Linked DNA regions of Homo sapiens: region 1 is linked to region 2. Evidence: promoter capture Hi-C in 16 types of primary human blood cells and fetal thymus (Javierre and others, 2016). All regions are on one chromosome and are shown on one strand. The core of a region is centred on a gene start or on the middle of the fragment in contact, and the rest is flanking DNA. Distances in the headings are between cores, read along the strand shown. Region 1 has its middle 34 kb from the start of LINC02680. Region 2 holds the start of GAD2 (glutamate decarboxylase 2).

What was found. The method cuts DNA at HindIII sites, captures the fragments that hold promoters and counts their contacts. A CHiCAGO score of 5 or more calls a contact.
Region 1: a fragment that was not itself captured here is called in contact with the fragment with the promoter of GAD2 in region 2 in 1 of 17 cell types (non-activated CD4 T cells); the score reaches 5.8 in non-activated CD4 T cells.

Annotation. Positions count from the first base shown.
Region 1 is chr10:27,596,750-27,603,891 of GRCh38, reverse strand. No RefSeq gene overlaps it. Among named protein-coding and RNA genes, the nearest start is that of LINC02680, 34 kb to the right of the region's middle. RefSeq lists an enhancer at 4,083-4,584. The HindIII fragment of the contact is 1,988 bases long and covers 718-2,705 here.
Region 2 is chr10:26,210,927-26,218,618 of GRCh38, reverse strand. It overlaps GAD2 (glutamate decarboxylase 2), which reads right to left and starts at 1,845. Exons shown (of 16, transcript NM_001134366.2): 1 at 1,734-1,845; 2 at 950-1,009; 3 at 628-777. The coding sequence starts at 1,809. MYO3A (myosin IIIA) reads right to left here. Exons shown (of 35, transcript NM_017433.5): 35 at 6,087-6,776. The coding sequence ends at 6,656. RefSeq lists enhancers at 1-521, 3,131-3,697, 3,698-4,263, 4,264-4,831. The HindIII fragment of the contact is 6,458 bases long and covers 1-6,150 here.

The sequences.
Region 1 (7,142 bases), core at 462-2,961, 1.4 Mb before region 2:
TAAATGCCTTTTAAAAATATCTTATAAGTGCCTTCATTTGGGTTCTTACCCCACAATTAGGGTAATGTTGATAATATAAACAAATTGTGCCAGACAGTCAATCCTTATTACTCAAAGATTCTGTATTTGCAAATTCACCTGCTTGCTAAAATGTATCTGTAACCCCAAATCAATACGCACTGCATTTTGCAGTCAATCAAGGACACGTGTAGAGTGGCAAAACATGTGAATCACCTGTTGGGCACATTCTCGGATAAGGCTGAACGAAGTGATGCTCTAACTTCTTGTTTCAGCTTTCATAATGTAAGCAAGTGTCCTTTTTGTGGTAGATTTAGTGCCATGTTTTTTGTACCTTTGTGCTTTTTGTTACTGATTTTGCTGTTAGATCAGCTTTGATCAGGCATAAGTTATAGGTATGAGTTAGCATGAATTCAATGTTAATGAATCAAAAATACGTATTAAATAAGGCATCTCCAAACAGAAACCCACATGAAATAAGGTTAGGTATTTATCAGTTGACAAAAATATCCTTACAAGAAGCTTGCAGGGACCCCCTGGGAGCAATTGTTCAATAATTGCTAATTCAGCATTTGTAATGACTTATTTAAAAAAAGCTACTGCAAATAATGATAACCAGCTATATCTCCTTATCTGTTATCTTTATATCAGATTTTGATATTAAGAGTATGCTAGCTTCATAAAACTAATTAGTAAGCTTTGTGTCCTTTACTATGGTCTGGAATAGTTTAAATACATCAGTTTCTTTCTTTGGGCCAATCTATACTCATGGCTGAAAATTTCATTCCCTATTCTATTTCCTACCCAATTATATTGAGCCATATTATCAGAGCTTCTTCAACAATAGTAAGATACTCCAGTAACATGATTATATCAAATATTTTATTATTTAAATTCAATAGAAAAAATTCCAATAGAAAAAATTCAATAGAAAAAATAGAAAAAGTTCAAATTTGAACAAAGGCCAGGTGCAGTGGCTCATGCTTGTAATCCCAGCACTTTGGGAGGCCATGGCAGGTGGATAACCTGAGGTCAGGAGTTCAAGACCTGCCTGGCCAACATGGTGAAACCCCATCTCTACTAAAAATACAAAAATTAGCAGGGCATGGTGGCGCACACCTGTAATCCCAGCTACTCAGGAGACTGAGGCATTCAGTCACTTGAACCCAGGAGTTGGTTGCTGCAGTGAGCCGAGATCGTGCCACTGCACTCCAGCCTGGGTGACAAAGTGAGAGTCCATTTCAAAAAAAAAATTGAACATAAAACCCTTCCTATTATACATTTCCTCCTGAGAAATTAAAATTTGAAGATTAAATCCCAGGGATTAGAATCCAAAATTCTTAAGTTAAGTCCAAAAGTTTTTGTCCTTGTGAGTTAAAATCCAAAGAAATTAAAGTTTGATATTTATCCCCATCCTAAATATCTGACTCTGTTCAGTATCACTAGAGGGTCCTCAGTGCTTGGGTAATGTGAGGGTTGCTCAGCAGCTGTGGACGAGGCTGTCCTCTGGAAGGCTGTAGTTCATTCTGGGTCATAGGAATTGAATTAGTTTCTCATATGCCCTGCCTTTAAAAAGTCCGATATGTTCCTAGAAAAGCAAGAATATGAAAACATTGGCTCTCCCCACTCTGCCTTTAGTAAGTAAGCCAATTTGCAGACCGTAAGTGCAATTATCCCAGATAAAATTATGTTCCCAGAACCCAGTGTTTACTGTTGCCAAAGTCCAAAGCAAAAACTCACTGGTGTCTGAAGGAAGGACAGAATGGAAGGACAGTTCACCAGGACACTGATTAGTCTATGTCAGCTGTCCTGAATCCACTTCCTGGGAATTTAAACTCCCTTGGAAGAAATCATCCATCAGGAAGTTAACTTTGGCCCATACGTGAACGTACCTAGGGGAGAAAGCTACGTATACATACTGTACTTCCTATCAGAAAGTAGCATTTTGAAAATGCTATGTTCTTACTAATATTTCTGCAATGGTGCAGCCTCAGGCACTGAGTCTTATTTGAGGAATCTTCATTTCCCATCCAGAATAGGCAATCATCTTAATTTCTCATTTTCCTTTCGGGCCTTGTGTTTCTGGCAACCAATGTTTCACTGAATGTGACTCCATCCAGAGTCCACTTAACATTCTCGTGTGAACAAACATTCCGGTGCTGTGCTACAGTGGCCTTCCTATGGAAGCCTGTGAGACTTGCCAAGGATGGTTTCTCTTTCAATCCCCATGTTTATTTCAGCTGGAAGATCAAAGCTGCTCTTGATGAATATGAAGTTTTGGCTGCTAGAGCCGTTGCAAAGGCCAATTCTTCTACCACGGGCTGCTCCTCAATCCAACATGCTATGCAGTTTGGGTCCTGGGTATCTAAAGGTACGTTACATTGATTGTGTATGTAAAATGATCAGCCTAGTATACAGCAGCCAGATAAGACTCAGCCCACTCAGTTAAATCTAAGTTTCAGATAAACAACCATTACTTTTTAGCATATTCCAAATATTGCATGAGATAGACTTGCCCTAAAAACTTGTTGTTTTGTTTATCTGAAATTCAAATTTAATTGGACATCTTGTATTTTTATTTGCTCAGTATGGCAACCCTAATCTAGAGCTAACGGGAAACTACATGGTGGGAATGACTCTTCAGCCTGAGAGCAAGCACTTAAGTTCAAAGCTGAGCCCTCTAAGCTTGCCTCCTTGGCCCTGGAAAGAAATGACATTTGGAGCAGCTGCTCTGGTCCTGCCTATCAGGGCCTGGCAGCCACATTAACCTAGACACTCCCTAGTGCTCTGTAGAGTAGGCAGAGCTCAGATTCCTTGCAGCTTAAGAACAGTCAATATTGTTACACCTACCAATGCCTGAGAAGGTCTAATCCCACCATTAAGTCTTTCCTGCTGGCTCCTGTTCTAGTGAGAATCAAAGTCATGCTCCAACAGCCTTTATCGTTGCCCTTCTCACTGCAGCCTGTACACTTGCTGTACCGCTCGGGCACATCTGACCCACACACCCCATTTTACTAGGTAATCTCAGCCCTGAAAGACATTGTGCAGCTGCTTGTCTGGGTAAAATTGTTCCATTTATGGATAAAACCAGTTTAAGCACAGTAACCTGCCACAGGGTAATGTTGGCTCTTGAAAACTGGAGCTTTAAACATCCCACCCTGTCTGCATTAACATTGACCTAATGGGACTTCCAGAGACGGCACTGAAAGGTGGGAGGGGAAAAAGTATCAATTCACAATAAAGGAAATAAAAGTGAAATAAGTTCAATACACACATGTAAAAGTGCTCAATTTCACTTATGTATTTTTTTCAAACTAAAAGAAGGAGATGCAGTTTGGGGCCTATATATTTGGTAAAAATTAAAAAGATTTCTAGCATCTGGTATTATCAAGGGTGTAAAAAAAATGAGTATTTTCATATAGTCTTGGTGAGTGTAAATTGGCCTGGCCTTGTTGAACAGTAAAAATTGCACAAAAGCGTTATGCTTATGATAAAGGAAAATGGAAACAACCTAGATGTCAATTAATAGAGATAAATAGGCAGGGCATGGTGGCTCACACCTGTAATCCCAGCCAAGGCCGGGAGGATCACCTGAGGTCAAGTGTTCAAAACCAACCTGGCCAATGTGATGAAACTCCATCTCTACTAAAAATACAAAAATTAGCTGGGCATGGTGGTGGGTGTCTGTAATCCCAGCTACTTGGGAGGCTGAGGCACGAGAATCGCTTGAACCTGGAAGGCGGAGATTTCAGTGAGCCGAGATCATGCCACTGCACTCCAACCTGGGTGACAGAGCAAGACTCTGTCTCAAAAAAAAAAAAAAAGACAAATAGAGGAGTGATGGCAGCAAGCAAGATGGCAGGATAGGTGGGCCCGCCATTGGGAGCCCCCGACAGTAACAATATTTTGGCTGCTATCCATGGACAAAAGTGCCCTTGTGGGGGTTTTTCGATCCAGGTAGGAGGTTACAAAAGCTCAGTGAAGCCTGAGACTGAGGAGAGCCATTTTGAGAAGGCAGGCCAGCACCCAGGTGGCAGGATCACTGTGGTCCTAGCATCTCTGTCCTCCTGTAGACTCAGGTACACCTCCAATTGGTCCTGCCACTGGCACCATCTGCCAAAGGACCCAGGACGGGCCATGCCTGCTCATGCCTGGAGTAATAGGCCCACTGACCTCAGTCCTGATCATAAGCCTTGAAGAGGCCCAAGACCAGGCTCCAGACCCTTTCAGCCACAGTTTGGAAGTTTCCCAGTGCCTGCCTATTGGGAAACACACCTGTCCATACCCTAGGAGGTGGGCCCACACACCTTGGTCCAACTACAGATCCTGGAATAGTCTTATAACTTGGCTTCAGCCCCTCTCAGCTATAGTCCAGGAACAGAATTCAGCCCCTCTCAGCCATAGTCCAGGAATAGTCCTACCCACCAAAAGACCCAGTGGGAGATCCACACATCTGTGCCCCTAGAGGCAGGCCTGAAGAGCTCAGTCTTAGCTGTGACCCTGAAGCAGCCCTGTGACTTAGTCCCTCCAAGCTGTGGTCCAAGGTCAGTTCTGCCCACCCAGAGACCTACACAATGATCCAGGAGGAGCCACACTCACCTATGCATTTAGTAACAAGCCTACTATCAACCAACTACAGATCCTGAAGCAGACCCTTGTCCCAGTGCCAGCCCTACTGACCAAGGTCTTGGAAGTAGATCCATTCACCCAGATACCAGGCAGGATCCACATCTGCTTGAGCCACTGGTAACAAACCTGCCAACTGCAGAGCCCAGTAGTAGCTACATGACCTGGCTACAACCCCACTTGACTTCTTTTGTCAGATCCCAGGGGTGATGGCATCACTTGACTGTGCTCCTAGAGGAAATGCCATCAGCCCTGGGAGCTGACAAAAGAAGATCTTTACCTGCCAAAACCAGTCTATAAAGACTGAAAAATGTACTTGCTTCTTAAATGCACAGACACTAATGCGGAGCTACACAGATCATGAAGAATCAGGCTACCAAACCTGTTACTACCATAACACCACCAAAGGAAATTAATAAAGCTCCAATATCTCACGCCAAAGAAAGGAGATCTACAAATCATCTGACAAAGAATTCAAAATAATCATCTTAGAGAAGCCCAATAATGCAAGAGAACACAGACAGACAACTAAACAAAATCAGGAAAACAAGGTATAAACAAAATGAGAAGTTCACCAGAGAAATAGAAACCATTAAAAAATGAACCAAATAGATATCTTGGAGCTGAAGAATTCAATGACAGGACTGAAAATTTCAATAGCTTCAACAGGAAGCTGGATCATGCAGAAGAGAGAATCTAAGAACTCAAACACACATCAGTTGAAATTAGAAAGTTGAAGGAACAAAAGAAAAGAAAAGATAAGAAAAAGAAAAATAGTGAGAAAAGCATATGGGACCTATGAGACACTATCAAATTGGTGAATATGTGCATAATTAGAGTCCAAGAAGAGAGAGACAGAAATGGGCAGAAAGTTTATTTAAAGAAATAATGTCTGAAAATTTCCCAAATCTTGAGAGGGATATAGACATCCAGATTCCTGAAGTGCAAAAGTCCCAAAGCAAGATCAACTTGAATAAGATTATATTCAACACATTGTAAACAAATTGTCAAAAGTCAAAGATGAAGAAAAAATGTTTAAAGCAGCAAGAGAAAGTGATTTGTCACATAGAAGGGAACGTCTATAAGGCTATAAGAAGGTTTCTTAGTAGAAACCTTGTAAGCCTGGGTGATATATTCAAAGTGCTGAAAGCACTTTGCGTTTATTATTATTCCAACCAAAAATAATATACCTGGCAAAGCTATTCTTCAGAAATGGAGAGATAAAGTCATTCCCAGACAAACAGAAGCTGAGAGAGTTCATTGTCCAAGAACTGCCTTACAAGTGCTAAAAAGGGCCCTTTAAGTTGAAAGAAAAGGACACTAAGTAACAATGTGAAAACGTATGAAAATGTAAAACTAACTGACAAAAGTAAATATATAGTCAAATTCAGAATACTCTAAAACTGTAATGGTGGCACATAAATCAGATTTAATTCTTGCATAAAAGTTAAAAGACAAAAGTACTAAAAATAGCTACAATGATTTGTTAATGGATACACAATACTTAAAAATAAGAAGTTTGACATCGATAGCCTATAATGTAGGAAGAGAGAGATATAAAAATGTAAAGCTTTTGTATGGGATTGAAGTTGTTTCATGCTTAAAATAGAATTTTATAACTATAAGATTTTATGTATGCCTTATAGTAACCACAAAGAAAAAAAAACTCTAGTAGATAAAAGAAAAAGAGAAAGGAAAGTATACCACTACAAAAAAATCAATAAATCACAAAGAAAGATAGTAAAAAAGTAAGAAAGAAACAAGAGAACTACAAAACAGTAAAAAAAAAACTAGAAAAATAGTAAGTGTCTTTAGTTATTAATAATTAATTTAAATGTAAATGTATGAAATTCTCCAATCAAACAAAGAATGGCTAAATAAATTGTTTTCAATCCAACAATATGCCGTCTGCAAGATATTCACTTTAGCTTTAAAGACATACATAGCCTGAAAGTGAAGGTATGAAAAAGAATATTCCATGCACATGCTAACCAAAAGAAAGTAAAGTGACTATACTTACATCAGACAAAATAGAATTTCAGTCAAAATTTGTCACAGAAGTCCAAGAAGGCAACTATGTAATCACAAAGGGATCAATTCATCAAGAGGCTATAACAATTATAAATATATACAGACCCAACATTAGAGCACCTAAATATAAAAGCCAATATTTATAGAACTGAAGGGAGAAATAGACAGCAATACAAGGGGACTTTGACACATTACTTTCAAAGGGGAATTTGATATATCACTTTCAACAATGAATAGATCATCCAGACAGGAAATCAATAAGTGGGCTTGAATAACACTGTAGACCAAATGGACCAAACAGAAAAGTCTATCCAATAGCACCATAATACACACTCTCCTTGAGAACATTCTCAGGGCAGATCATATGTTAGGCTACAAAACCAGTCCTAATAAATTTAAGAAGATTGAAATCATATGAAATAACTTTTCCAACCACAGTGGTATGAAACGGAAGGAAAATTGGAAAA
Region 2 (7,692 bases), core at 596-3,095:
TGATAGGAAGGCCCGCTGTTTCTAAAGTCAGTGTGTGTGTGTGTGTGTGTGTGTGTGTGTGTGTGTGAGAGAGAGAGAGAGAGCGTATGCATGTGTGTCTGCATGTGTGTGTGCGCGCGTACATTTGGGAGACGGTGTGTAAGTGCACGGGGGTAAAACTCGGCGCGCGGGTTTCATGTGAATGGAATCGTTCTCTTGTGCAATTGCAGCTACAAATCACTCTCGTGATCTAAAGACCTAAAAAAAATGCAATTCTGAATTCTCGGGCACGGTATTTGGAAACTGAGTCCCACCCGAGGCCCCAGCGGCCTAGGGAAGCCAGCCGTCATCGATTCAGTGAGCGCACGAGCGCCTGGATCGTCGGCCACCCGCCATCCCAAGGGCCGCGCTGGGGGAAGAGCGCCACGGCCTCAGAGCCCTCTTGGAGCTCCGAGGCCAGGTTCGGGGGCTTGGACCCAGCGGGCAGGTCCCGCATTTCTCGCTTTTATCTGAAGATTCTGGCAGGTCCCGCCTCCGCTGCCACCTCGACGCCCCTGTCCGGCTCTCAGCGCCGGACCCGCACCGGCCGCGGTGGGCGGGGCAGAGAGAGGGGCAGGGGCGCCCCGGGGCTCCCCGCTGAGTCTTTACCTGTTGCATGGAGAAACGCGTAGTTGACATCCACTTTGGAGCAGCTGCAGGGCTTCTGGTCGCAGGCGCAGGCGGCCTTCCGGGCGGCGGCCCGCGGGGGTTGGCTCCCGCCGCTCTCCGCCGGCTTCTCGGCGTCTCCGTAGAGCAGGGCTGGGTAAGGACACCGAACGCGGGCCTCGTCAATCCTCCGCCGGGCCCGGCTCCCTCGCTCCCGCCTACCCGCAGCCAGGAAACCCCGACTCCGCTGACTGGGATGCGGAGGTGAGAAGACTGCTTGGACCCCGCGGGCCGACCTTGGCCGCCCCGGTCCCTGGGCACTCACCGCACAGTTTGTTTCCGATGCCGCCCGTGAACTTCTGAGCCACTTGGCACCAGGCTCGCGCTGCAAGGAAGAATAGGCAGGCAGACAGCGAGGCAGAAAGAGAACAACAGACGGACGTGTGAAATTTCGTTCTATGTGAAAATCAATCAGTCCGGGGTCCTAGGAGGGGCCGCCTTCCTCCTGGGGGCCGCTCAGGACTCGGTGAGGCCGGCAGGTGCAGAAGGCAAGCGGGAGGCTGGCGGCCCGGGCCAGCCCTCATTTCCTTTATCTGTTTCCCGAGGAGAAGCCCACACCGCTGCCCTTCCAGGTGCCAATCGGCTCAGGCAAATTCCTCTCCCTGCCTACCTTGGACGAGTTTTCCTAAACACTGAAGCTATCCATTTTTTCGCAGACTGTCTTTCTAGATAAAGAAATCTCTCACCTTTCCCATTTTTTTTTTCTATCTTCACGGTCACTCCGTCCCACCCCAGGGTCCAGACACCCGGATCTTAGCAGCGCCCCAGGACCACGGAATTCCATGTCCCCGAGACACCGCGGTCTTTGGGGGGCTCTTCCAACCTTCTGTGGAACGGGCCTGAGACTATTTGGGCGTCTTCCCAGGGTACAAGAGGCTGTAGAGGTCTTGAGCTCTTGGGCCGTCAAGGACTTAGCCCAAAAGCAGGGAGAAGCGCCCGAAGAAGTTTCCTGTTGCAGGTGGAAAAACCTCCTTCGTCTTCTCCGTAGTTCCGCAAACCCCAGACCACCGCAAAACTCGCCCGCCGCAGGCCCCCGTTCTCCTTCCTACCTGTGCCGGGATTCTCGGAATCCCCAGAGCCATCTTCCGACCCGAAAGACCAAAAGCCAGAGCCCGGAGATGCCATCGGCTTTGGAGACTGGAGCAGGTCGCCTGCGAGTGCGAGCTGCGGGCGAGCTGCCTCGGGCTTGGCCCTGCGCGCGCGTGCGTGCCCGTGTGGCGGGAGGAGGGCACCGCGCGGGGACCGGCGGGGCCGAGCGGCGAGGGCGGGTGTCACGCAGGAACAGAAAACGTGCGTGTCTGTGCGTGTGTGTATGCGAGCTGGAGACAGGGTTTAGGGACGTGGCAACCCTTTGGAAGCCGGGGAGCTTTAAAAGAGACCGGGACTACCTAAGGGTCCTCGGAGCCCGGACTCAGGAAAGCGCGGAGAGCCCCAGAGCATTTGAGGGAAAGGGAGCCCAGTGGGGATGAATGAGGGGGCGGCGGAGGAAAAAAACACGAGAGAGGGAGGGAGCTGAGTCGTGAGGATGCGAGGCAGACCATGCACGCCAGCTGGAGTCAGAGTGAGGGGGTGGGAGGCGTGCCAGCGCGTCCTCGGGCGAGCCAGAGGCGGGAAGTGCGGGCGGCCGCTGTCCCGGGTGCTGCCACAGCCGCTGCGCGCCAGCGTCAGCGAGGGGCAGACTGGGGAGACCTCGGCGAGGCGGGAAGCGTGGCCCAGAGGAGTTTTCTGTGTGCATCGATTGGGGTTTTGTTTGAGGTCTGGCTCCAGCTGAGGGGAAGGAAGCGGGGTTCCCGCGCCGTTTTCCTCCAAGCAGGTGCTGAGGTCACTGCGACCTCGAGAGCTCGCGCCCCGGGCGGGCATCAGGCGCCGTTCACGAGCCTGGGGAGGGGACGGCGGGGGAAGGGCTCCTACCCGCTGATGGGCTCATTTCAGCGCCTTGGTAGAACCTGACGCCTGCCTGCTGAACCGCGCCGTACCCGGGGGCGCACCGTTCCTGCGTAGCCAAGGGCTAGATCGCGGGACCCACCGTCCAGGCTCTGAGTGACGGCTGGGGAGAATGACTGCTGATTGAGGCAATTAAAATCCACGCTGGAGTCTACTGAGGACCTCGGGCTGGGGAAAAAAAAATAAAACGAATGGAAACTTCTTGGAAGAGAATGAGGCAGAGCGGCCAGAGTCGGCAGGATTGATGGCGGGTGGGGGATGGAATCAGGGCATTTGGTGACCTTGGCCCGCGGAGGCGTGGAAGCGCCCGCTGCTTGCGTGTAAGGGGGATCTGTGTGCGCCTGGGAGGGGAGAACAGGGTTTCCAACTAAGCAATCTCGGCTTTACAAATCCGAGTAGGAAAGAAGGCATCGCCTGCAGGGCCCTCGTTTTAAGGGGCTTCAAACCAATGCCCCCCCTCGCCCCCAGAGAATCTTCGCGGTAGCGGGTGACCCGGAAGCGCGAGATTGGTTCTCTCTGAGGCGTATTAGGAGGCGGTTTCTCTTTTTCTAATAAAGAAAGGAGGAGAAAGTCAGAATCGTTCTGATGATTTCCTTTCTACAAAAAGCTATTGCAGACAGGGAGGACGCCCTAAGGATTGGGAGCCCTTTGACAGTTTGCGCTGCGTTCTCCTGGCAGTGGAGATGAACTTCAAGTGCACCTCGGAGCTCCGGGGCTCTGGGGGAGACGGAGGGAGGGAGAGAGAGGAAAGGGCTGAGGTCGGCTTCCCGAGGCGGCTGCCTTCCCCGCGCCTGGCCAGAGCGCCTGTCATTTCCATTGTGTTCACAAGTCGTTTTATTTCTCTGACCTCCTGAACCAGCCACCAAAGCTGCTAACAAAGCAGAGACCCGGGGATCCCGTCTGGGCGAGCACCCCTCGACCCTCGCTTAGAAGGGACATCCTGGGGCCCATGCTGGACGCATACAGGCCCAAGTCCTGTGTGCTCGAGCATAACTGTCCCTGGTCAATTCTCTCCACAAAGCGCTGTCTTCTTCTCGCGTGCCTGAGTCCAGGGGTTCCCTGAGGAGTCATGGGATCCACACTATGGCAACTGGGCCCAGGCGCCAGGATGAGAGCAGGAAACCAGTCGGGCGTTGATAGCGTCCTGCCGAAGGCTGGCACTGAGCGTGCTAGGTGAAGTCTGTTCCAGGCTGTGGGAGCCCGGGTGGTCGAAAACTCAGGGCTCAGTTTGGCTCCTCTTTCTTGCTCTCCTGGCTCTGACACTCTAGGTCACCACAATAACAACTCCGGAAACCTAAAGACTTGTGGTTCAGCCATCTGCACTTCAGGCATGGCAGCTCCGCAGCTCTCTCCAGCCTCGCAGAGGCTGGTTCTTTGTTGAAATCCATATCAAATCCTGCAAAGGTTTTCCTTCAAGCCAGCAGTCTAGGGTTGCAGAACTTTTCTACTATGGATGAGTGGTTGAAAACATAAAGGTTCTTAAAAGCAAGCGTTTAAATCACACAAAACCCCCAAAGAAGAAACGGATTAAAACACCTGAATTTAACTGATTTTTTTTTCTTTTTGGTAAAGCAATGGCTTCAAGTGCTACCGTTTAAACTCCATTAAATCCCACAGCTCTGGAGTACTTTGGATCTAATGGTGATATTTACATTTTTTATTTAAACACACCCTACTTCAGATGCAGATGGAGATCTGATTTGTCTTTCCTGAAGGCTGTCCCTCCCTAGACGGTAATTTGCTTTGTAATGACTTTCATTTCACTAAAGAGCCCATTCCCCCTCTCCGGGGCTTGGGGTTGGAGATAACAAAAGAGCTCTGGGAGGTAATAATTACAGTCATTAGTTCACAAAGGAGGCAGCCAGTGAATGGGAAGGGAAGGCGGCCGCTTTGGAAGGCCCTTCCTCAGATGAGGGGCGAGAGACCCAATCCTCCGACTTGTAGGGACAGTTTCCTTAGGTGTCTGGTTTACCAACATATGGGTCTCAGGCTGACCCAAAGAAGAGTGTCTGGCACACATTTTCCTGTGTCCTTCCCGTGCTTAAATGTCAAAGGACAGAGAAAGAAGGGAAGATGGAAAGAAAAAGAGGAAACAACCACGGAAGAACACAAAAATATTGCAACCAAGCATTCACCAAGCCTTTGCCATTCTCTTTTCTATTCTCACTTAAAACATTGGTGCAGGAAAAATTTAGGGAGGGAGTCTGTTGCCTCCCTCCATAAATTCTCCCTACACCAACAGAAATAACAGAAGGGGCTGAGTGCCAGGGCTCTTGTCTTCAGGGGCCACCCAAGAAGGACGCCTAGATTGAAGGGTGGCCAGGCAGAAAAGCTGAGCTTAGCTTACTGCTCCTTACCCCTGGCCCCTGCTCCGCCCTCCCCACAAACCCAGGCCTTCTGGAGGCAAGTGGACAGGCAGCTAGAGGTGGAAGGGGGCCAGGCCACTTTGGGCTTTAGACACCCCTGCCCCTCCCAAGCCCCTCTCTCTGGTGACCTGCTGTGCTGGTTTCCTGGGTACTGGGCCATACTCAGCTCCTCAGTGCATTCGCACAGCTGAGGGTTACTCCTTACTTTCAGTCGCAACCCCAGCAAGACTGTGCCGCTAACCCAGGGAAAAAGAAGGCCTGGAGGGCACTTGGACTCTGCCATGCCATAGCTGCAGGTTTTCCCTTGGCCACATTGCATCTGTAAAATGAAGAGATTACACGAGTTGGCTCTGGGGACCTTTTGGTGCCAACTCTTTGAGTTGGCGAGATTACTATGCCCTGTGGACCAGCGGCGCAACAAACGCTCTGAGCCCTCTGCACATGCCCTCACTCACTCCTCGAATATTTCCCCAGAGTCTTTTGACTCCGGCTTGTGGGTGCAGGAGCCAAGGGCACCCACACAAGGGGTGAGCCCCATCGTGATCAGAACCCTTCTTCCAATTCCATGCAACGACCTCATCACCTGTCCTCACCCTCTCCAGGTTGCTTAGATGGGAATGTCAGTTTCATAAAACAGCTTAAACCGGGTTTTAGAATAAGGTGCAGTCAACCCAGGAATGCAAACTTCTGTCCACCCACTAGCCTCCCCCATTTTAAATACACACAAAGTCGGAGTAGCAAAGATGGCCCCAAATCTGCAGACCGGGAGAACCTGAAATCTGACAGTTCCACCCAGTGGGGGCACTAGCATCTTTATAGATGGGGCCAAAGACAGTCACGCAGATTGGGAAGGCATCGTGCAGGCGAGCACGTGTGGTGTGTTGGGGATTTAGACATTGGAGGCCTCTGCGTTTGTGTGGCAAGGGGTTTTAGCTTAGATTGTGTTTGTCTGAAGTGGCTGGGTGGTGCTGGGAGTTCGCTGATGAAGGCACCTCAACGCCCCTCCTTGGGCCCGTCACCAGCACAGCCTTATAGCAGAAGCCCCTCAGAAGCCCTAGAGGGGAAAATGAGGGATCAGTCACGCAAACCACGGGTTTTCCAAGGCACTTCCTTTATTTAGTGACCTTAATAACCAAAGGAAGAGAAAGAGCAAGCTTGAGATGAAATACATCTTCGAAATTCTCCCCACCCCTCCCGGGCTTTTTTCTCTAAGATTCAACCGCTAGCAAGTGTTCTGTTGGCCAAGAAAAGCCGTTTCCAATAAAAAAAAAAATCTGTGAATTCAGTCACCCCAAATGAGAGAGGGGTTGGCGAGATCCCAGGCGCAGTGGAGTCCACAGGAGTCACAAAAAAAAAGAACAAAGTGATAGATTAGGGGAACAAGGACAGGGTTGCCACAACTGGCGGGCTGGTGAGAAAGGAGGGTGCGGGAGTTCCGAGAGAGAGCGTCGGGGGAGGTTTCCCGAGGGCTCCCAGGTCTCTTGTTTCGGAGCACGAAGGCCGGCCCGGGCACTTGAGGGCCGAGCGCAGCAGGCAGCCTCTGCGGAGATCAGGGCCGCAGCTTCAGTGCCTGCTGGTGCCAGCCCCAGAGTGCCTGCTTGGCCCCTGCTGCCCCGCAGGCTCCAGCGCCTTCCGACGGCGGTGACTGCCTCGTTGAACGGTTAGGACTGCTGGACGAGGCGCCGGCGCTGGGAGGTTTTGCGCAGGAGCCTCCTGAAGTCGTAGGGGTTGGCTGCTGGCTCTCTCTCCTCCTCCTTCTCGGGGCTCTCCGCCGCCCAGCACCTGCAAGTGAAACCCAGGGCCCAAGTGTCAACCTCACCACAGTGAGCAGCGCGTCCCCACCTACCCCGAGTTAGGCGGGTCCTCTTCCTCCCACGTTCTGCCAACCGCGGACATTTAGGAAAGGCACAATCGAAACGACTGGATAATGGCCAAACGTATCTGCGATAATTCTCAACAGGTTTTAAAAACTCCTCTAAGCTGAGGAGCAGAGGGGCTGGTGGAGCCTGGTAATGGTGTTTAGATACGTGCTAACTAAAGCTTCAGAAGGTGCAGTTTGGAAAGGTGAGTTTGGATTGCAATAATTCACAACCAATAAACAAATATTTATTTTAATACCTTAATTTTAACACACTTTGGTCAAACAAAAAACTCAAAGTGCCCAAATAGACACTCAATATTTTGCATTTTAAAACTGCTCAGATGTTTCTTTAAAAAATGCTCACTCAAAATCTGACCAACTGCTCTGTTAGTGACACCAAGAGCTATGGGCCTTGTTGGCTTTTTCAGTGTTTCAATGTTTTCAATGAGGCTGCTGGGCTAAGTTTCTGAATCCATTGCTGAGAACCCCTGCCAATGTTTACCTTCAGATTCTGCAGCTTGTCTGGAAAGTGGGGTATTCCCTAAAAATGCAGCTACATAGATTCATTCACTCCCCATTGATTCATTCATTCATTCACTGAGCACCTGCTAAGTACCAGCCACCAGTGTAGGTGACAGGTGAGCAGAAGTCCTTGCTGTCATGGAGTTTATAGTCTAGTGCAGGAGACCCACAGACAACTTGAAAACACCAGGGGGTGAGAGGCTACACAGAAAAGTAAAGCTGGGTAATGGGGAAAGAGTGGTGTGTGTGTGTGTGTGTGCATGTGTGTACAGGCAATTTGATACAGGGTGGTTGGAAAGGCCTCTCTGACAAGGT